Linked DNA regions of Homo sapiens: region 1 is linked to region 2. Evidence: promoter capture Hi-C in human tissues and cell types (Jung and others, 2019). All regions are on one chromosome and are shown on one strand. The core of a region is centred on a gene start or on the middle of the fragment in contact, and the rest is flanking DNA. Distances in the headings are between cores, read along the strand shown.

Region 1 (5,671 bases), core at 1,915-4,414, 150 kb before region 2:
CAACATGATTCTACATCTGGAAAACCCCATATTCTCGGCCCCAAAGCTTCTTAAGCTGATAAACAACTTCAGCAAAGTTTCAGGATACAAAATCAACATACAAAAAAAATCACTAGCATTCTTATACACCAGCAACAGCCAAACCAGGAACCAAATCAAAACTCAATTCCATTCACAATCACCACACACACACACTCCTAGAAATACAGCTAACCAGGAAAGTGAAAGATCTCTACAAGGAGAATTATACAACACTGCTCAAAGAAATTAGAGATGATACAAACAAATGGGAAAACATTTCATACTCATAGATAGAAAAATTGCCCAAAGCAATTTATAGATTCAATGCTATTCCTATCAAACCACTAATGATATTCTTCACAGAAATATAAAAAACTATTTCAAAGTTTATATAGAACCAAAAAGGATCCCAAATGGCCAAGACAATTCTAAGCAAAAAGAACAAAGTTGGAAACATCACACTACCCAACTTCAAACTACACTACAGGGCTATAGTAACCAAAACAGCATGGTACTGGTATAAAAAAAGACACATAGGCCAATGAAACAGAATAGAGGATCTAGAAATAAGGCCACATACCTATGATCATCTGATCTTCAACAAAGCTGACAAAAACAAGCAATGGAGAAAGGACTTCCTATTCAATAAATGGTGCTGAGATAACGGGCTAGCCATATGTAGAAGATTGAAACTGGATCTCTTTCTTACACCATATACAAAATCAACTCAGGGTGGATTAAAGAATTAAATGAAAACCCAAAACTATAAAAACTCTGGAAGGCAACCTAGGTAATACCATTTTGAACATAGGAACTGGCAAAGATATCGTGATGAAGACGCCAAAAACAATTGCAACAAAAGCAAAAATTGACAAATGGGATCTAATTAAACCAAAAAGCTTGTGCATGGCAAAAGAAACTATCAACAAGAGTAAACAGCCTACAGAAGAGGAGAAAATATTTGCAAACTATACACGTGACAAAGGTCTACTATCCAGCATCTATAAGAAACTTAAGGCTGGGTGCAGTGGCTCACACTTGTAATCCCAGTACTTTGGGAGGCCGAGGCAGGTGGATCACGAGGTCAGGTGATAGAGACCATCCTGGCTAACATGGTGAAACCCCGTCTCTACTGAAAAAAAAAACAAAAACAAAAAAAATTAGCTGGGCGTGGTGGCGGGCGCCTGTAGTCCCAACTACTTGGGGGGCTGAGGCAGGAGAATGGCATGAACCCGGCAGGCAGAGCTTGCAGTGAGCTGAGATCGCACCACTGCACTCCAGCCTGGGCGACTGAGAAAGACTCCATCTCAAAAAAAAAAGAAAAAAACTTAAGCAAATTTCCAAGAAAAAAACCAAGCAACTTTATTTTATTTTTTATTTATTTTTTATTTTTGAGACAGAGTATCGCTCTGTTGCCCAGGCTGAAGTGCTATGGCACACAATCTCGGCTCACTGCAACCTCTGCCTCCTGGGGTCAAGCAATTCTCCTGTCTCAGCCTCCTGAGTAGCTGGGATTACAGGCACCCACCTGTAATCCACCACCACACCAGGCCATTAATTTTTTGTATTTTTTTAGTAGAAATAAGGTTTTGCCATGTTGGCCAGGATGGTCTCGAACTTCTGACCTCAGGTGATCTGGCCTCAGCCTCCCAAAGTGCTGGGATTACAGGCCTGAGCCACCGCACCCGGCCATAAAACAACAATATTCCAAAGTGAGCAAAGGGCATGAGCAAACACTTTTCAAAAGAAGACAAACTTGAGGCCAACCAGCATATTAAAAAAAGCTTGGCTAGGCGCGGTGGCTCACGCCTGTAATCCCAGCACTTTGGGAGGCCAAGGCAGGTGTATCACCTGAGGTCGGCAGTTCAAGACCAGCCTGGCGAACATGGTGAAACCCGCCCCCCCAACCCGTCTCTACTAAAAATACAAAAATTAGCTAAGTGTGGTGATGCATGTCTGTAATCCCAGCTACTCGGGAGGGTGAGGCAGGAGAACTGCTTGAACCGGGAGGCGGGGGTTGCAGTGAGCCAAGATGGCACCACTGCGCTCCAGCCTGGGTGAAACAGAGCGAGACTCTGTCTTTAAAAAAGAAAAGAAAAGAAAAGCTCGATATTACTGATCATTAAAGAAATGCAAATCAAAACCACAATGAGATACCATATCGTATCAGTCAGAATGGCTATTATTAAAAAATAAAAAAATAACAGATGGTGGCGAGGTTTTGGAGAAAAAGGAATGCTTATACACCGTTGGCAGGAGTGTAAATTAGTTCAACCATTGTGGAAGACAGTGTGGTGATTTCTCAAAGATATAAATACAGAAATACCATTCCACCCTGCAATCCCATTACTGGGTATATACCCAAAGGAAAATAAATTGTTGTTATAAAGACACAGGCACAGATATGTTTATTGCAGCACTATTCACAGTAGCAAAGGAAAAAAAAAGACTCCAGGAGGCGTCCCTGGGAGACTTTCTCCAGCCTCATAGCCCATCTTGCACCCAAGTGACAGCACGTGGCTTTCCTTTTGTGAGGGGAGCCCATGGGATTCACTCCCTTTTCCTATTTCCTCCGGGGTGAAGCCTCATGTGTCGGGACAATGTGGGATCAGGGACTGTCTGGGTGACCCTGGCGAGCCTCTCCTCACGGAGTTCTAGCGGCCATCAGGGAAAGGGGAGCACGCCCAGGGCGGCCGCCCCCAGGGGTGTTTGAATACAGGCCAGGAGCAGGCTGCTCTGTGATGGTGGGGCGGGAGGTGATGAGACTCCCCTGAGAGGCTCCCTTCGGTGCTGGAAAGATGGGACATGGGGAACCGCCTCCTGCCTGGACCAGTTGATGCCCAGAGCCACTCCCCTGGGTCCTCATCGCTCCTTCCAGGCAGTGAGGATGTGGGTTTCCAGGGGAATCCAGGCCTTTAGGGAGAGTGGGAATCTGACTTTGATCTTGCAGCTCCGCATTTTTCCTGCACATTTGCTGATTAGTTTATGCCTGTCAGGGGCCTCAGGGCCAGTGCTAAGTCCCAGGGTCTTAGGGTAGGAAAGATGATTCCCCAGATTTCCTGCAGGCATTTGAGCATGGTGGAAGGATCAGTGGAGCCTCCAGTGAAACTTGGCAGATTGCGCACTTCATTTATTTTCACTCTCCCAGGATCCTTCCCAAATTATCATAAATAAACAGAGAATTCTGAAACCTACAAAGAAAAATACAGCAAAAGAACAATGAATCAGTTTCAAAGCCTAGGCAGAGAGGCCGTAGGGTGACTGACAGCAGCCCCTGTGGGACTGGAGAGCAGACGGTTTGGTGGAAACAGCGCCCAGTTCCACAGAGGGAACTTGAGGAGAAGCAAAGTGACTGAGCCAGCAGAGCCGGGCCCCAGACCCCCACCCCAGCCTGTGGGAACTGCAGGTGTGATCTGGGAACACACTGTTCTGTCCCTTCTATTTTTCTCTTCATATAAGCTCTGGTTCTAGAAACAACTCACCTGCAGCCGTGTGTGTGTGTGTGTGTGTGTGTGTGTGTGTGTGTGTGTGTGTGTGTGTGTGTGTGAAAGAGACACAGAGCACGTGGGAGCTCATTTCTCCCTGGGTGTGTGTGTGTGTGTGTGTGTGTGTGTGAAAGACAGACACAGAGCACGTGGGAGCTCATTTCTCCCTGGGTGTGTGTGTGTGTGTGAAAGACAGAGACACAGAGCACGTGGGAGCTCATTTCTCCCTGGGTGTGTGTGTGTGTGTGTGTGAAAGACAGACACAGAGCACGTGGGAGCTCATTTCTCCCTGGGTGTGTGTGTGTGTGTGTGTGTGTGAAAGACAGAGACACAGAGCACGTGGGAGCTCATTTCTCCCTGGGTGTGTGTGTTTGTGTGTGTGAAAGACAGAGACACAGAGCACGTGGGAGCTCATTTCTCCCTGGGTGTGTGTGTGTGTGTGTGTGTGAAAGACAGAGACACAGAGCACGTGGGAGCTCATTTCTCCCTGGGTGTGTGTGTGTGTGTGTGTGTGTGTGTGTGTGTGTGAAAGAGACACAGAGCACGTGGGAGCTCATTTCTCCCTGGGTGTGTGTGTGTGTGTGTGAAAGACAGAGACAGAGCACGTGGGAGCTCATTTCTCCCTGGGGGTGTGTGTGTGTGTGTGAAAGACAGAGACACAGAGCACGTGGGAGCTCATTTCTCCCTGGGTGTGTGTGTGTGTGTGTGTGTGTGTGAAAGACAGAGACACAGCACGTGGGAGCTCATTTCTCCCTGGGTGTGTGTGTGTGTGTGTGTGTGTGTGTGTGAGAAAGACAGAGACACAGAGCACGTGGGAGCTCATTTCTCCCTGGGTGTGTGTGTGTGTGTGTGTGTGTGTGTGTGTGTGTGAAAGACAGACACAGAGCACGTGGGAGCTCATTTCTCCCTGGGTGTGTGTGTGTGTGTGTGTGTGTGTGTGTGTGTGTGTGAAAGACAGAGACACAGAGCATGTGGGAGCTCATTTCTCCCTGGGTGTGTGTGTGTGTGTGTGTGAAAGACAGAGCACGTGGGAGCTCATTTCTCCCTGGGTGTGTGTGTGTGTGAAAGAGACACAGAGCACGTGGGAGCTCATTTCTCCCTGGGTGTGTGTGTGTGAAAGACAGAGACAGAGCACGTGGGAGCTCATTTCTCCCTGGGGGTGTGTGTGTGTGTGTGTGTGTGTGTGTGTGTAAGACAGAGACACAGAGCACGTGGGAGCTCATTTCTCCCTGGGTGTGTGTGTGTGTGTGTGTGTGAGAGAGAGACACAGAGCATGTGGGAGCTCATTTCTCCCTGGGTGTGTGTGTGTGTGTGTGTGTGTGTGTGAAAGACAGACACAGAGCACGTGGGAGCTCATTTCTCCCTGGGTGTGTGTGTGTGTGTGTGTGTGTGTGTGAAAGACAGAGACACAGAGCACGTGGGAGCTCATTTCTCCCTGGGTGTGTGTGTGTGTGTAAGACAGAGACACAGAGCACGTGGGAGCTCATTTCTCCCTGGGTGTGTGTGTGTGTGTGTGTGTGTGTGTGTGTAAGACAGAGACAGAGCACGTGGGAGCGCATTTCTCCCTGGGTGTGTGTGTGTGTGTGTAAGACAGAGACACAGAGCACGTGGGAGTGCATTTCTCCCTGGGTGTGTGTGTGTGTGTGTGTGTGTGTGTGACACAGAGCGCGTGGGAGCGCATTTCTCCCTGGGTGTGTGTGTGTGTGTGTGTGTGTGTGTGTGAGAGACACACACAGAGCACGTGGGAGCCCATTTCTCCCTGGGTGTGTGTGTGTGTGTGTGACACACAGAGCACGTGGGAGCCCATTTCTCCCTGTGTGTGTGTGTGTGTGTGTGTGTGTGACACACAGAGCACGTGGGAGCGCATTTCTCCCCGGCTCCAGATGGCAGCAAGGAAAAGCGAGATCGCACAGGATCCAGGTTCTTTGAGGCCTGATGCCCATTGTCCCACCCTCAGCCTTGGCCTGTCCCCAGCTTGCTGCTGCCTCAAACTACAGGCTTCCAAGCACTTACTGGAGCCATTTTTTCTCACGTAGCCCTCCAACTGTTAGTCAGGGTTAGCCAGGCTCTGTCCGCCCCCAGCCAATCAGACAGTCAGTTTCCCCAGCCAGCGGGGAGTTTCTGGTTTGCCAAGACTCAGAGGCTGGTGGAAGCCAGACTGGGAA
Region 2 (5,491 bases), core at 1,594-4,093:
ATCTCAGCCTCCCAAGTAGCTGAGACTACAGATGTGCACCACCACACCCGGCTAATTTTTGTATTATTTGTACAGACAGGGTCTCCCTATGTTGTCCAGACTGGTCTAGAACTCCTAGGCACAAGCATTCCTCCCTCCTCAGCCTCCTAAAGTGCTGGGATTACAGGCGTGAGCCACCATGTCTGGCCCCAAAGAGGGTGATGGGAGTGGGGGCCAGAAGACAGAATGAACAAATAAACACGCAAGATAACTTCCAAGTGCTATAAAGAAAACAGGTCGGCTGGGTGCGGTGGCTCACGCCTGTAGTCCCAGCACTTCGGGAGGCCGAAGCAGGCGGATCGCGAGGTTAGGAGTTCAAGACCAGCCTGGCCAGCATGGTGAAACCCCGTCTCTACTAACAATACAAAAAATTAGCCAGGCATGGTGGTGTGCACCTGTAGTCCCAGCTACTCAGGAGGCTGAAGCAGGAGAATTGCTTGAACCTGGCAGGCGGAGGTTGCAGTGAGCCAAGATTATGCCATTGTACTCCAGCCTGGGCGACAGAGCAAGACTCCGTCTCAAAAAAAAAAAAAAAAAAGAAAACAGGGCAAGGAATGGTGGCTCATTCCTGTAATCCCAATACTTCCAAAGGCTGAGAGGGGAGGATCTCTTGAGGCCAAGAGTTCGCAACCAGCTTGGGCAACATAGGGAGACCACCTCTCTATTTTGAAAAAAAAAAAAAAAGTAAGTTGTGCAAAGGGGAGGGAGGGGAAGGCATGGAGGATTCAAGGGGAGGATGGCCTGGAATGAGGCCCAACCAAAAAGGGAGCAGAAGTGGGCAACACAGAGACCTGGCTTTTTCTCCAGGGCTGTTCCTAGTCCCAGCTGAGGCCTGAGGAGGAGTGGGGACTTCTCTACTCTTTCCCTCCAGAGCAGAGGGTCCGGGATAGAAAATTCAATCTGGGGCTGGGTGTGGTGGTTCATGCCTGTAATCCCAGCAATTTGGGAGGCTGTGGTGGGTGGATCACCTGAGGTCAGGAGTTTGAGACCAGCCTGGCCAACATGGCAAAATCCCCTCTCTACTAAAAATACAAAAATTAGCCGGGCATGGTGGAGCATGTCTGTAATCTGTTACTCATGGAGCTGAGGCAGGACAATCGCTCGAAGCTTGGAGGTGGAGGTTGCAGTGAACCGAGATCACACCACTGCACTCCAGCCTGGGCAACAGAGCAAGACTTCATCTCAAAAAAAGAAAAAGAAAATTCAGTCTGGACCTGGGTTTGGGGTCAGTGCCTGTTCCCTCCTCCTTCCTAACCCTCACCCTTCCTCCTTAGGGCAGATGGGCAGCTCCCATCTTCTCCCCTTCCCCCGTTCCCCAGGACAGCGACCAACACAGGGCGGCAGGGTAGGGCTGGACCCCCTCCTCCGCAGAACTGAATTCTGTTGAATACCCAGTGGGCAGATTAAGTTCGGGCTAAGGGGACCAGAAAGGCTGGGACAGGAAAGGAGTTTTCTTTTCTTTTCTTTTTTTTTTTTTTGAGACGGAGTCTCGCTCTGTCGCCTAGGCTGGAGTGCAATGGCGCGATCTCGGCTCACTGCAACCTCCGCCTCTCGGGTTCAAACGATTCTCCTGCCTCAGTCTCCCGAGTAGCTAGGATCATGGGACTACAGGCGCCTGCCACCATTCCCGGCTAATTTTTGTATTTTTAGTACAGACGGGGTTTCACCATATTGGACAGGCTGGTCTCGAACTCCTGACCTTATGTTCCGCCCGCCTCAGCCTCCCAAAGTGCTGGGATTACAGGCGTGAGCCGCCCGGCCCGGAGTTTTCTATTCTTTTTTTTTGAGACGGAGTCTCGCTCTGTCGCCCAGGCTGGAGTGCAGTGGCGCCGTCTCGGCTCACTCCGAGCTCCGCCTCCCGGGTTCACGACATTCTCCTGCCTCAGCCTCCCGAGTGGCTGGGACTACAGGCGCCCCCCACCTCGCCCGGCCAATTTTTTGTATTTTTAGTAGAGACGGGGTTTCACCGTGTTAGCCAGGATGGTCTCGATCTCCTGACCTCCTGATCCGCCCGCCTCGGCCTCCCAAAGTGCTGGGATTACAGGCGTGAGCCGCCGCGCCCGGCCTGGAGTTTTCTTTTTTTTTTTAAGCATCACTTCATATTTCAAGAGCTCTCAGTTCTCCTGAGATTTCTAGGCTCTGTCCAGGATCCCTAAGCCTGTTCACAGTCCTACTTGAAGTTTCTAATCTTTCTTTTCTCATTAACCAAAACTGGAGAGAGGAAAAAGCCCATCATTTTCCCTGGACAGCAGCGCCTACTGGGAGTTTCACCCGCATTAACATGCAAACGACAGGCAAACTCCTAGTCATCCTTCCAAAGACCCTGCTCCACAGCCCTGCCGAGGCCGGTGCGCACCTAGCCCAGCCACTGCCCCTCACGGCCCCCGCGCCGCCCTCACTGAGCAGGGCGGGCAGCGCTGTAAGCGTAACCACTTGGGGCTTGGGGCTTCTGACCCGGGAGTCGGGTGCTGGGTTGAGTGCGAGGCCGACGCCTCTGCCGGGTGGGGAACCCGCCCGCCGGCGAGGAGCGGTCGCGGCCAGGGGCTTCCGCCGACTGGGAGGCCCGGGGCCGGGCCGGAGGGACTCGGAACCTGGAAACGACCAGGCGCGACCCCCAGAGGACTACAGGCGCGGCTTTTCTGGCCGCCGCCCGGTTCCCGCGGGCGACTCCACTCGGCATGCGCGGCGGGGAGCCTCGGCGGTGAGGCGCAAAGCCGCGGGCTCGTGGGACGGCCACCCCTCCGCAAAACCGCCAATGGGCGGGCCCGGGCCGCCGATCGCCCGCCGCGGCTTCCGGTTCCGATGACAGTGGCGCCGGAAGCCGGGGCCGGGGCTGCGGGGCGAGGTGAGAGCGGGCGGGCTTGGGAGCCGGCAGGTGCGGGCCGAGGGCGGGCACAGCGGCCGGCGGAGCTGAGGCGCGCGGCGGGGAAAGCTCGGCCGGCCTCCCGGGCCCCAGCCTTCTCCAGAACCCCTGCTACCCACGACTAAGCCCCGAACAATCTGCCCTTGGGCTTGTTCTCTTCGCAGTTGTCGGCCCTGGGCCGGGAGCTGGAGTCCCAGACTCATAGGTCCCGGCCCAGCCCCCGAAGAGCCGCCTCAGCCGGGGGGAGTTGCTCGGACTCAAACGTCCAGTCCTCGTGCGACCGCGCTGGGTCGGAAGTGAGCAGGTGCGCACCGGGCTCGGCAGGGCTATGGAGCAGGGTCTTTGGAAGGATGACTAGGAGTTTGCCTGTCGTTTGCATGTTAATGCGGGTGAAACTCCCAGTAGGCGCTGCTGTCCAGGGAAAATGATGGGCTTTTTCCTCCCTCCAGTTTTGGTTAATGAGAAAAGAAAGATTAGAAACTTCAAGTAGGACTGTATAGTAAAAAAAAAAAAAAAATGGAGGAGGGCGATATGACACGGTAACTGGTGTGAGGGTGGGGCGGAGGGGTCAGTATTAGATACTGTGGTCTAGCAGAGCATCTCTGAGGACGGGACATTTGCGTTGAGACCCAAATTAGGAGGCAGGCTTAGGAAGATACGGGAAGAGAGTGGTCCAGGCAGCGGGAACAGCCAGTGTGAAGGCCCTAGGGCAGAAATCAACTGAGAGTATAGTCAAGGAACAGAAAGCAAGCTAGTGTGGCTAAAGTATGGTAAGAAAGGGAAAGAGTGGTAGGAGATGAGGTCGGATAATTGGGGTTTGGTCACATAGAGTCTGTAGGTCAGAGAGAGGAATGTGGAGTTTTTTCTAAGTACAGTGGAAATCTTTTGGTTTTAAGCAGAGGAGTGACATGTAGGGTAGAGAGTGGATGGAGGTCGCGGCTGCAAAAGCATAAGAATTGGCTGGGCACGGTGGTTCACGCCCGTAATTCCAGCACTTTGGGAGGCTGAGACTGGCAGACGGCTTGAGCTCAGCACTTCAAGACCAACCTGGCCAACATGGTGAAACCCTGTCGCTCCAAAAAATTAGGCTGGGCGCAGTGGCTCACGCTTGTAACCCCAGCACTTTGGGAGGCCAAGGCGGGAGGATCACTTGAGGCCAGGAGTTCAAGACCAGCCTGGCCAACATGGTGAAACCCCGTCTCTACTAAAAATACAAAATTTAGCCGGGTGTGGTGGCAGGTGTCTGTAATTCCAGCTACTTGGGAGGCTGAGGCAGGAGAATCGCTTGAAACTGGGAAGCAAAGGTTGCAATGAGCCAAGATCGTGCCACTGTACTCCAGCCTGGGCGACAGAGTAAGACTCTGTCTCAAAAACAAACAACAAAAAAATTAGCCAGGTGTGGTGGGGAGAGAGGGGAAGAATAGGGACAAAAGGGAATACATAAATAAACACAAAGGAGAAAAGGCCCTGCATGGACCACTTACATGTGTCATGAACTCAGGAGTGTTCATGGTGGGACTACATGGTGCACCTGTAGTCCCAGCTTCTTGGGGTGGGGGGCTGAGGTGGGAGGATCACTTGAGCCCAGGAGGTCGAGGCTGCAGTGAGCCCTGATTGTACCACAGCACTCTGGCCTGGGAAACAGATTGAGACCCTGTCTCTCTCTTTTTTTTTTTTTTTTTAAGCAACCCTATTAACTGAAGAGACCCTGCCTCACAAAAAAAAAAAAAAAAAAAAAAAAGCGTTAAGAATTGGGTCAATGGAGGTTGTCTAATCTTTTTTTTTTGTTTTTGTTTGTTTGTTTGTTTTTTTGAGACAGTCTCACTCTGTCGCCCAGGCTGGAGTGCAGTGGCGCCATCTCAGCTCACTGCAACCTCTGCCTCCTGGGTTCAAGCAATTCTCCTGCCTCAGCCTCCCGAGTAGCTGGGATTACAGGCACGCACCACCACGCCCAGCTAATTTTTGTATTTTTAGTAGAGACAGGGTTTCGCCATGTTGGTCAGGCTGGTCTCAAACTCCTGACCTTGTGATCCGCCTGCCTCGGCCTCCCAAAGTGCTGGGATTACAGGCATGAGCCACCACGCCCAGCCGATGTTGTCTAATCTTTGTCAGGCAAAAGGGACCTTTATGATTTGCTCAAACTTCCTTTCTCCTTACACAGGAGCCCCTTGTTTCAGGATGCTAAATACTCCAGGATAAACCTCCATACATGCCTTTGTGGAGATTTTAATATTTCACTCATGTCTCTTTTCTACCCACTCCTACACATTTGAGCTCAGGTTCTCCAGCGCAGTTAGGAAATGGATGTGTCATTTAATCAGCAAATGTGTGTGTGTGTTTTTTTAAATTTGAGACGGAGTTTTTGCTCTTGTTGCCCAGGATGGAGTGCAATGGCGTGGTCTTGGCTCACTGCAACCTCCACCTCCTAGGTTCAAGCGATTGTCCTGCCTCAGCCTCCTGAGTAGCTGGGATTACAGGTGCCCGCCACCACGCCTCGGTAATTTTTGTATTTTTAGTAGAGACGAAGTTTCACCATGTTGGTCAGGCGGGTCTCAAACTCTTGACCTCAGGTGAGCCACCCACCTCAGC

Evidence for each region. Contacts are between HindIII fragments. The study calls those that stand out against the background at their distance.
Region 1: a contact is called between a fragment that was not itself captured here and the fragment with the promoter of RMND5B in region 2, in 1 of the 25 tissues and cell types used here (dorsolateral prefrontal cortex).

The regions. Positions count from the first base shown.
Region 1 is chr5:177,975,292-177,980,962 of GRCh38, forward strand. No RefSeq gene overlaps it. Among named protein-coding and RNA genes, the nearest start is that of PROP1, 18 kb to the right of the region's middle. RefSeq lists an enhancer at 4,774-5,518. The HindIII fragment of the contact is 5,363 bases long and covers 484-5,671 here.
Region 2 is chr5:178,128,171-178,133,661 of GRCh38, forward strand. It overlaps RMND5B (required for meiotic nuclear division 5 homolog B), which reads left to right and starts at 2,844. Exons shown (of 11, transcript NM_022762.5): 1 at 2,844-2,884; 2 at 3,067-3,206. RefSeq lists enhancers at 1-352, 1,366-2,017, 2,018-2,669, 3,948-4,477 and a silencer at 2,401-2,990. The HindIII fragment of the contact is 16,880 bases long and covers 28-5,491 here.